Regions from separate parts of the Homo sapiens genome. Here region 1 is linked to region 2. The links are contacts of gene promoters, found by promoter capture Hi-C in human tissues and cell types (Jung and others, 2019). All regions are on one chromosome and are shown on one strand. Each heading gives the region's core, a stretch centred on a gene start or on the middle of the fragment in contact. The rest is flanking DNA. Distances are from core to core; before and after follow the strand shown.

Evidence for each region. The method cuts DNA at HindIII sites, captures the fragments that hold promoters and counts their contacts. A contact is called where the count stands out against the background at its distance.
Region 1: a fragment that was not itself captured here is called in contact with the fragment with the promoter of SP8 in region 2 in 2 of the 25 tissues and cell types used here (H1 embryonic stem cells and heart left ventricle).

Annotation. Positions count from the first base shown.
Region 1 is chr7:21,468,493-21,473,988 of GRCh38, forward strand. The region is part of intron 3 of SP4 (Sp4 transcription factor); the gene reads left to right. MIR1183 (microRNA 1183) reads left to right here and starts at 2,566; the gene lies at 2,566-2,654. The HindIII fragment of the contact is 5,755 bases long and covers 1-4,944 here.
Region 2 is chr7:20,782,878-20,788,722 of GRCh38, forward strand. It overlaps SP8 (Sp8 transcription factor), which reads right to left and starts at 4,009. Exons shown (of 2, transcript NM_182700.6): 1 at 3,901-4,009; 2 at 1-2,918. The coding sequence starts at 3,921. The coding sequence ends at 1,413. RefSeq lists an enhancer at 387-1,047. The HindIII fragment of the contact is 9,980 bases long and covers 832-5,845 here.

The sequences.
Region 1 (5,496 bases), core at 817-3,316, 680 kb after region 2:
GGTTATTGTTGCTATTATGAATGGAATTTTTTTTTTTTCTTTTTCAATTGTTTGTTGCTGATATGGTTGGGAACTGTTGCTTTTTTATGTTGCTCTTGTATTTGGCCATCTCGCTGATGTACAGATGTCATATTATAATAATTTGTTGATTTTTCTATAGTTTTCTAAGTAATATAATTATATCTTTTGTAAATCATGACAGTTTCGTTACTTCCTTTTAAGTCTTTATTTCTTATATAGATCTGTTATTTCTTGCCTTACTACATTGGCTTAGACCTTAAGGAAATGTACAGTATTAGAGGTGAGAGCAGTAATCACTTCTATTAGAAACTACAGTGAGATATCCAATTTTTTGTTTATTAAATGATTTTATACATTTTACTGAATTTCTCATGCTCCATGAGATGAAACAGCATTCTCCCATACTTCTGGTGGAAATGTAAATGAATGCAGCTCTTTATATATACTCCTGTAATTTTATAATCTAGATAGTCTTACAAATGTTTCATGTCCTTTGATTTAGTAATCTCACTTCTAGGACTATCCCTTGGAAATAATAAACAATATTTTAGTTCAAGTTGCTCATTACTTTATGTTACTTATAATAAGTATTTGGAAATAAATATCTAACAGTACAGTAATGGCTTTGTAAATTATGGTATATGATGAAATATTGCACAACTATTAAAATAATTTGTAATATTAATAACTTAGAAGTACTTATATTACTAAATAAGTAAAAGAGGATAATACAGAATTTTTATATAGTAAAGTTGTATCAGCATCAAAATACATTGAACAAAGATTAAAACAGAACTTAGATCATCACATCAAAATGATAATAGTGGTAATCTATGGGTAATTACTTTCTGGATGATTTCATTTCCTCATTCATAGTTTTCTATGGTGAGCATGCTTTGTTCTTAAAATCAGAAGAAAAAGAAACTTAAAGTGTATGTGTTTGTAATACTAAACTATTTATTTTCATCAAAATAGGTAGAAAGGGAGAAATCTTAGCCTATTCCCTAAATGGCAAGTTTAGTTATAATTTTTTTTTTTTTTTTTTTGAGACGGAGTCTTGCTCTGTCGCCCAGGCTGGAGTGCAGTGGTGAGATCTCCACTCACTGCAACCTCCGCCTCCCGGATCCAAGTGATTCTCTTGCCTCAGCCTACCAAGTAGCTGGGACTACAGGTGCCCGCCACCACACCCGGCTAATTTTTTTGTATTTTTAGTAGAGACAAGATTTCACCATATTGGCCAGGCTAGGACTAGTTGGTCTCAAACTCCTGACCTTGTGATCCACCTACCTCGGCCTCCCAAAGTGCTGCAATTACAGTCATGAGCCACCATGCTGGGCCTATAATTTTTTAGAGTTAATATTTTTATAATACTCTTTTCAAAAAAAAAACACCTTGCTGAATGTAGATAGCAAATGTCATAGGAGAAATCTGATACCTGAGAGAGTAGTACATAGTTTCAGAACCAAGGTTGAGAGTTATGCTCTGGGATCTGCTTCTAAATGATCTGACTGCCATATCAGTGAGTCAGGGAGGAAGTGTAGCAGATATCCACTTGATTTGGTTTCTTACTGTCTTGTCACCCATGTGCATGTGTATTGTAAACTAGCTGTCATTTAGCAGCCCTGTGATATACTGCTGGCCGAGTTTCGTAAGAAAGCTTCTATGTTTGTATAGATTTTAGATTATCATTCGCTTTATTTAAGAAACATTCATTAAGTACTTTCAGTGTGTCAGGAACCTTGGTAGCCAAAGGACAAATGACATAAAAACCACACAGATGGCCTCTTTCTTGAGCAGCTTTTGTTGGAAATAATTTATGACTAATATTATGATGGAGTGAGATGGTGTCTTACTAGTAAGACCAGAAATACTTAAATTCTAATTCAACCAATTCTTGAGATCCCTTAGGGAGCTAGGTATACCAAAATTCAAGTTAGAATTTGTTGGCTTAGGCATAGGCCCCTGCCTCACAATCCAGAGAACTAGGTTATTCTATATGGAATATGCCTTTTTCCTTTACCAGCTAAACCTGACTTTCCTTTCTACGTGTTAGCTTAAATTCAAGTCGTCTCAAATTTTACTACTCTACTAAGGCAAAAAACTACTGGTACTAAAAGAAAATGAGCAAGAAATGTCCAACAAGCTAGATCTTGTTGAATAGTTAGCAATTCAGATGTCTTACTACCTACCAACAAACTGTCCCCCTCCATTACCTTGGCCCAGTTTCTATATTTGGAAAAAAAAAAAAAAAAAAAAGCAGAACAAAAAAGGAATAAGAAAGATGGCTTGGCTGCTCCAAGCAGCCTTGGAATGTTTTACCTCTGGTAATGTGGAAGAAAAATAAAAGAACGGCCATCCTCAGTCTGTTTCACCATAATGTGTAGTTACAATACCAAGAAATTTTGAGTTATTAAAAAAATTATTTTACAAAGCAGTTTCATTGGTAAGAAGGATTAAAGACTAAAATCTGTAAGATGAATAGACTTTTGTCAGACCAAGGGAGATGGAGGTTTGGGGTGGGAGAATGTGTTGGATTCCAGCTATATTATTCAAATGCTCGGAGACACAGAACATTAGAGAAGACAGGAGTTCACTGTAGGTGATGGTGAGAGTGGGCATGGAGCAGGAGTGCCAAGAGATGAAGTTATAAAACTAAGCAGGAGTTAGATCATGAAGAACTTTATGTACTATGCTAAGAAATACTGACCTTATTGTGAATGTATGGAGGGCCCATTGGCTTTTTGGGGAGCTAGGTCTGCAATATGAATATTAGAAGGGGCAAAACTGGTGATAAGGGCTTGCACTAGTGTACAAGCAATAGGTATGGTGAAAATGGAGACATTTGAGATATTTTGAAGAGGTAGACTTAACAGGGACTTATGATCAACATAGATAATGTATATGGTGGAAAGAGAATAGCTTTTTGAGTTGGATAAGTGTGGGTTCAAATCCCAGCTCTGTCACTTTTCCATTTTAGGATCTTGGATGTTTTACATACCCCTGAGAACCTTAGTTTTCTCATCTTAATTGGGACAGTAAGCTGGGTGCCATGGCTTGTGCCTATAGTCCCAGCTACTTGGGAGGCTGAGGCAGGAGGATCACTTGAGGTCAGGAGTTTGAGTGTAGCGTGGGCAACATAGTGAGACATAATCTCTAAAAGAATTTTAAAAATTAACTAGGTGTGGTGGCATGCATCTGTAGTCCCAACTACTCAGGAGGCTGAGGCAGGAGGATTGCTTGAGTCCAAGAGTTAGAGGCTACAGTAAGCCATGATTGTGCCGCTGTACTCTAGCCTGGGCAAGAGAGCAAGACTCCATTTATTAAAAATAAAAATTTGGGACAGTAATATTTAGCCCATAGGGATGTGAAACAATATATGGAAAACATCCAGTAAAGTGCCTTACCACATAGTAGATATAAAACAATAGTTGCTCTTGTTGTCAGGGTGAAGGAGATAGAGAGGAATCAAGAATGACTTCCAAATTTTCTATTTGAATGGTGAAAAAGAGCTATATTAGGAAAGTGGGCTAAGCTATCTGGTTCTTAGATTGCTTGTGAGGATTCAGGTGGAAGTGTTCACTGGCAGTTGATAGTAAGAGTATGACACTTCTGAGTGGAAGGCACAGATCTGTGAGTTAATCAGCTTACACATAGCAGTAAAAGTTATGAAAGTAGATGAGGTCCCCCAAGAAGAGAGTTAGAATGAGAAGTCAGAACCCTGGAGAGTGGCCTAGGAAGAGTAGAGGGTGTATTTTGTTTGATTGTTTGTTTGTTTGTTTGTTTTTGAGAGGGACTTTCTCTGTCACCCAGGCTGAAGTTGAAGTACAGTGGTGCCATCACGGCTCACTGAAGTCTTGATCCCCAGGGCTCAAGTGATCCTCTCACCTCAGCACCTCATTCTCATGAGTAGCCAGGACTACAGGCACATGCCACCATGCCTGGCTAATTTTTTAATTTTTTTAAGAGATGGCATCTCACTGCGTTGCCTAGGTTGGTCTTGAACTCCTGGGCTCAAGCAGTCCTCCTGCCTCGGCCTCCCAAAGTGCGGGGATTACAGGTGTGAGCCACTGCACCTGGCTGATAAATCTTTTCAGAAAGTGACATAAATTTAGATTTAAGTGCTGATTTTAAAAAATTGCTAAGGCCATGCATGGTGGTGCATGCCTGTAATCTCAGCTACTTGGGAGACCAAGGCAGGAGAATTGCTTGAGCCCTGGAGTTCAAGACTGGTCTGAACAGCAGAGTGAGACCCCCATCTCTTAAAAAAAAAGAAAAAAAAAAGCAACCAAACAAAAAGGAGCTAACAGAGAAGAAGGGGTTTCTGAAATGTAGGAAGTTAGCTCACAGAGTCAAAATTGAATAAGGATGGAGTGGCGAGTGGTGTCAAATGCAGCAGAGCAGTCCTGTAATGGTCACTGAAAAAATGCACAATAGATTTGGTCATTAGAAGGAAGACTGTGAACCAGGAGCTGAGTAAGTCCTTGTGGTAGAGTGCTTTGAATGCCAGACTTTGGTCGGTGGAAGAATGATTAAATGTTATTGAGCACGAAAGTGAGATGATCAGAACACTACTTTTTTATTTTTCTGGCAGCAGTGTGAAGGATGAGAAAGGAGGGAAAGCTCAATTTAGGTTGGTAGAGGCACAGATTGAACAAGGGCTTGGATCAAGATGATAATCTTGCTTGGAAACAGGTTAGCGTAAGAGCTGTTAGGCAGTAGTGTCTTCAAAATTTGGTCATCACTGGATGTAATGAGTAAAGAAGTAGCCTAAAAGATGACATTTTAAGGTTTTCAGTGTGGATAACAAGGAGAATAGGGGTAGCATTTACTGAAACAGGGACATTAGCAGAAGCAAGACTGGAAGATGAAATCATTTTTTATTTTTAAACTTTGATTTATTAAGCATATGCTATTGAGTGGCACTGTTATTGAGTTATTAGGCACTGTTACGGTACTAGAGATACAGCAGTGAACATAATAGGCAAGATCCCTACTTTCATGGCACTTTACCTTCAGAAGTGAGGTGAAGACCAAATTATAAAAGGACAAAGTAATTTAAGACAAATAAGACAAAACTAGGTGATGATACAGTGATATATTGAGGGGAGCTTTTAGATGGGATGGTCAGGAATGGCATTTCTAAAGAGGAGAGATTTGAACTCAGACCAGAATATTACAAAGGAATCAACTATGCAAAGATCTGGGTGCAAAGGCATCCCCACTTAGACTGGAGAGTATATGCAAAGTCCCTAAGAAGGAAATGAGCTTGATTTATTTGAGGGCCAGAAGAGAGGCCAGTATATCAGGTGCAGAGTGAGCAAGGGAGAGACTAATAGAGATGAGCTCTGAGAAGTCAATAGAATTAAACTTAAGTGGGGCCTCGGAGGTCTTGCTCTGGAGTTTGGTGGCTTACTGATGGCAGTGGAAATAAAGCAGTATGTTGAACTTAGCTGTCTGTGAAACATCTAGATGAAG
Region 2 (5,845 bases), core at 2,759-5,258:
TCAAATATTTACTGGAAGTAATGTACAAGAAAAATACTATACAAAATCGTCTCCTGGACAACTGCACCTCACACCCTTACACTGGCGGAGTTATATTTAATTGGTAACTAATCTAGAACGATTCTCCAGTTGTACAAACCATTAGGTTCAGATATATTTTACAAAGGTTCTTTTTTATTTTCCCTCTTTTGGTATTTAAACTACAGCCTCGTCTGAAATAAACGATAGCTTCTTCACTTGTTTGTAAGTTTAAATCACACACAAAAAAGTTTAACCCTACGATCTTCATGAATTGAGAGAATTTACGAAATTGGTACTATACAATTGACGGCCGGACTAACAAAAAAGATTGGGAGGTTATGTTTGGGAGTGGTGAAAAAACGAGGTAGAAAAGGACAAACATGGAGATAGTTAATCTGGTCTCACCGGAAAGGAGTATTTTTGCATAAGAAAAAAGCACCTACCCTCACCCCCGCCCCCACCCCGTAAGTTAAGTTAATGCAGTCAAAGTAACTTTGGGATCAATATTAGCAGTTTCGAGAGAAAGATTGCTCCCCGTTAGAGGAAAAAACTATTATAGAAGGGAAACCAAATGGAAGGTTGCTATTTTCCCCCTAGTTTTTTTAAAAATAAAATATATGCTATAAAGATGAAAGAAAGCTGCTGCAGCGATTCGACAAGACTGCCCTTTGCTGAAACTTGCATCGGTTCCACCTCAGGGAACAAAGAAAAAGAGGCAGACTGACATTGGGAGATCTAAACTCTACAAACTCTGGGTCTCGGGCTGCCAAAAGTCACCCCCACCAAGCCCCGACAGCCTGAGTAGGACGTCCGGCGATGCCCAGGGGCCTGGCAGGGTGCTCCGAAGCCGAGGTGCTCAGTACAGCGGCTCTGGAACCAAGCAGCCGTCTGCCCGGGCGGCGCTGTTCTGCCCAGGCCTCCAGCCTCTCCCTCTCCACCGCTCCGCTCAGGCTTGTCAGCCGAGCCGCTCCTGCCCGCGCGAGGCCCGCTGTCTACCAGGCACTGGATTAGTCCAGCTCTACCTCCAGTGGCCGTTCCCTCTAAAAGTTACGCCCTTCACAACCTGGGGGGTGGAGGAGGGGAGGACAAGGAAGAGAGAACGAGAAATAAAGGCCCGACGAGGCGCGGGTTCCGGCTGCAACGGGTTCAGGCAGCGTTACCCGTGGAAAGGGAAAGCCAGGGCCCGGGACAGCGATGCGTGTTACTTACTTGTCCATATCCCCTTTACAAAGTTAAGTCACAGAAGGAAGAAGGAAGAGGGGCAGAAACAGAAAGAGACAGAGAGCGAGTCGGATGCAATAGGGAAAGGCTGGAGTTGAAGTCCGGACAGACAGGGCCCAAGAGGACTTGGTGGGAGGAGGTCGGGGAGAGGGGCGGGCGCAGGGTGGGCGTCACTCTAGGCCGTTGCGGTGCCCGGGCTCGGGGGGCTGCAGCAGCTCTGGGGAGTGGCAGGGCGGGCTGCCCGCGGCGCTGTGCTCGCTGTCGGTGTCGCTGCCCTTCTTGCCGCCGCTGCCCGAGCCCGCCGAGCCGCCGCCGCCGCCGCCGCCACTGTGCGTCTTCACGTGCTTGCTGAGGTGGTCGCTGCGCATGAAGCGCTTGTTGCAAACTGGACAGGCGAAGCGCTTCTCGCCGGTGTGGGTCCGCAGGTGCCGCTGCAGCTCGTCGGAGCGCGTGAAGCGCTTGCCGCAGAAAAGCCAGTTGCACACGAAGGGCCGCTCGCCCGTGTGCCAGCGCAGGTGCGCCTTGAGGTGCGAAGTCTTGCCGTACACCTTGCCGCAGCCCGGGATGTGGCAGCTGTGCAGGCCCTTGCGCCGCAAGCTCGCCCCGGCAGGGCCCAGCCGCTCTGCCTCCTGGCAGTTGGGGCAGTCGCAGGTGGCGCGGCCGGAGTAGCGGCGAGCTGAGGAGCGCGGGGAGCCCCCCAGCGGCGCCGAAGGCCCAGCGCTCAACATGGAGCCCCCCGCGCCGGCCAGCGGCGACGGGGCCGAGTCCGGGTAGGAGCCGGGTAGCACTGGCTTGAAGCCGTCCATGAGGTGCTGCCCGGCGGGGCTGAGCAGGTGCGAGGAGGCGCCGCTGCTGAAGGCCGAGTGACTCAGGCCCGAGTAATCCGAGTTGTAGCCTCCGAGCGGCGAGTGCAGCGAGGTTTGGAGCCCCCCGGCGGCAGGGTGCAGCGAGCCGGGCAGCGCAGCCGCGCTGTTCGGGTTCTGCACGTCGATCCAGCCGGCCCCCACGTCCCACCAGCTGGAGGCGCCGGCCGAGCCCACCTCGCCCGCAGCACCCAGGCCCGGGTGCGAGGGCTTAAACCACGACTCGTACGGGTGCGCCATGCCCACCCGCGGGTAGATGCCCTGCAGCCCGTCCACAGAGGTGTGCACCTTGGAGATGAACACCGGCTGGTGGGAGCCGTCCTGCGAGTGCGCGGAGGAGCCGCCGCCGCCGCCCCCGCCGCCGCCGCCGCTGCCCCCGGAAACTCCGGGGGCCTGGAAAACAGAGTAGTCGTTGGCGAAGGGCGAGCTGGAGGCGGCGGCTGCGGCGGCGGCGGCGGCGGCTGCGGCGCTGCTGGAGGTGAGGGAGAAGGCGCTGGAGCCAGGCGAGCCGCCGCAGCTGAACGAGTCGGACACCAGGGCCGCGGCAGCCGCGGCTGCTGCCGCGGCCGCCGCAGCCGCCGAGGACGAGCCGCCGTTCCTGGAGGCCCCGGACACGCCGAAGCTTGAGAGACTGGAACCCACTACGTTGCAGCTGGCGGAAGAAGAGGACGAGGAGCGTTTCCAGGGGTGGAAGCCTTTGCCGAAGGAAGAAGAGCTGTCCGAGAGGGAGGAGGGAGACGGGCTGGGGCTGCCTATCTTATTACAGGTAGCGGCAAGCATGGCCAGAGGAGTCGATCCCAACCTCGGTTCTTCCTGCGAGGAGGAGAGGAGAAGGAGTGGGGGAGGGGAGGTGGGCAAAGGGCCGGTGGGGGAGGAAAGGAAGAAATGTGCATCAGTCCTTCGGTAGCCTCCAAAGCGCCCCACTGCACCCCATCTCTCGCTGCGGCGCGCCGCCACCAACTCACCTGGCACCCCCAACAGCCCCGGCGCCCGGCCGCTTCCTACTCTACAGGAGGGGACAAGTTTGGCTGCCGGCGTCTGATTCGGGAGCAAGCACCACGCTAAAGAAGAGTTTGACAAGTATTCTCACCTAAAACAACACTCTCTTGCACACAAAGCCCCAGACACTTCGTAACAAACAAGCAAAAAGTCCAGATTGGAGAGGAAGGAAGTTTTCTTTGCCGAGAAGCCTGGGGGAAAACCATTGGATTGCTTTTAAGAGCGCTTCCCTGTAATCCGGAGAGCTTTGAAAAACCTGTTCGGGTCCCCAGAAACCCATCCTGGGTTGTTTCTCCCAGGCCAAAAGAAATCAAACTGTAGGGCTCACTCTTTCTTCCTGCTTTTCTTTCTTTCTTTTTTTAAAAGCATATCTACAGTAGTAAAAACGAGACGAGTTCAACGTACCTGCGAGACAAGGCGGGCTGCAGAATTTTTTTTTAAGGGTTAGGGGAAGAATCTGCACTTTGCCCAGAAGGAAAAACTTGCTCTCTTTACCCCCGAAATCGGTGCCTGTAAAATGGGCTGGACGCAGGTCTCCCGGGCAGGGAGCAGCGAGGCGCTGCGCGGTGGCTTGTCTAAATGCCCTTCGAACCTTTTCCTGCGCTGAAAAAAAGTGACTCTGCCCCCTTCTCCCCCTTTTTCTTTTCTCCAAACTCACTTGTATTTAAAGAAAAAAAAAAAAAGCTCTCAATAGAGAGACTGATAGCCCGTGGCCTGGCCGGGGCGACTTTAACCCCCTCCAATCGGCAATAAAAGGAAACTAATTAAACCAGCAAGAGAAAATCCTGAGACTCACCCCTAGAAGTGAAGTTGCCATCACACAAAAGTGCCCTCCTCCTCTCAGAGGATCTTTTTTATATTGATAAATCAGAGGCAGTGTTTTTTTTAGAGGTGTGCAATACAATGATCAGTTCCGCCCATTCCACCACAATTGTAGCTCCCTCTCCGGCTTTGAAGTGCCGCGGAGGCGCGGCCAGCCAATCTGCGGCCTCGCCGGGCCGCGCGGCGCGCGCGCCGTGAGGTCATCGGCGCCGCCGCCTGCCGCCGTGGTGGAAGGGGGAGTGGGAGCGGAGGGGGCGGGGGCGGCTGCGTGTGTTACAAAGCGCAAAGCGCGCGCTCGCGTGTATGAGTGTGTGTGTAACAATGTAACTGTGTGCGAGTGTGACCAGGCGTAGGAGAGGACAGTGCGGAGACTGGAGGGAGGGGGGATGGGGGTGTGACACCGTAACAGTGACAGTGTGGTAAAGGCGGGGAGTGGAGAGAGTGCAGAAAAGGGAGGGTTGTGTGATAAGATAACTGCGTGTGCGACAAAGCGGGGTAGAGGGACAGAGCAGTTAAGTGTTGGGAAGGGTGTGAGTGTACGGTAGTGTAACTGACAAACCTAGGGAGGGAAGAGGGACTCAACTGGGTGGGGGGTGAGTGTGTTTGGTGTTGGGGGAGAAGGAGGGCTGTGAACATGTGTATTTGTGCGACAGAGAAGAGGGAAGGGTGTGTGTGGGCGCTTGTGTTGTGTGCGCGCACCAAAGCTGGTAGTGGGGAATGGGAACAATGCAATAAAGTGTGTGTTTGTAAGAGAGAGACTGTCGAGCTGAAGAGAGAAACCGACTAAGTTGATGGAGGCTGAGTGAATAAATATTCACAAACGCTGCCCCTGTCGCCAACTTCCTTTGGCTCCTTGTACCTAAAATCTTGAGTGATTTTTTTTTCTTAACTTGGTAAACAGCGTCACTACATTTTTGAAGAAGATCTTTAAACCCACCTTTTCTTTCCCGGCTCTCCAACGAAATAGTAGAAAGGTTGAGAGGCTAAGGGTTATTTTTAGGGATGCGTTGGGACGTGGATGCGCGCCTGCGCGCCCATGAGTTGTTTCTTTGATGCCGTGGCTTTTTTTTTTTTTTTTTTTTTTTTTTTCCCTGAGGTGGAATTCTGCTTTAGAAGTGCACGTCTCACTCTAGGGGAGGAGGTGTGTGTGTCCCGTGGTGTTGAGTAAATTTCAATACAAAAGGATTAGATAGAGAAGAGAGTAAGCGAGGGTCGTTTTTTCTTTGGGTAAGAAATTGAAGAGCGTTTTACGGAATTTAGAAATTTTCACAGAAAACCTCACTGCCTCTTTCTGAGAAAAGAATCAGGACTTTGATCGAAATATATGGGTTCTATTTATCTAAGAATAGAGAGGAGCTTTTGACAAATCTTGGACATTTATCCAGGCGTCAGTGTCTAATGGCGATTGGGCCAGAGATCTGTCTATGAGTGTGTGTGCATGTTAATAGATACACTTAGTTCAAATTCGGTGGGGTTTAGTCATTTGCTTGCCATTTGTGTTATTAGTTGCCTTCAGAAATGCCATTACAATTTCACTGCCACCACAAGGGAACTTAAACCGCAGAAAGCACAACACCAGTGTAGCAAAAAGTCCAGTCTTTGTAGCCCTATTGAATATTCATAAGTTATAAAAACAGTTCATATTTTTAACCAGTTACAAGTGCTCTCAGAAGTCTAATTTTAAAATGGAATTAACTAAAATGTGACTAGCTGGGCGAACTGTTTTGTTTTGACTGGGAAAACATTTTTATTTTACTGTTGTGTTTGAACCCCCCTCAAGGATTTCACAGCTTCTAGGGATGTCAAAAAATCTTCCTAGGGTTTACAAAATTTCGAAGTCAAGTTGTATCGTGTAAATTTCATTGAGCAGAGTTGAAACTGATGTTTGTGGTGTGAGAGTGTACATTTCTGACCCTTTT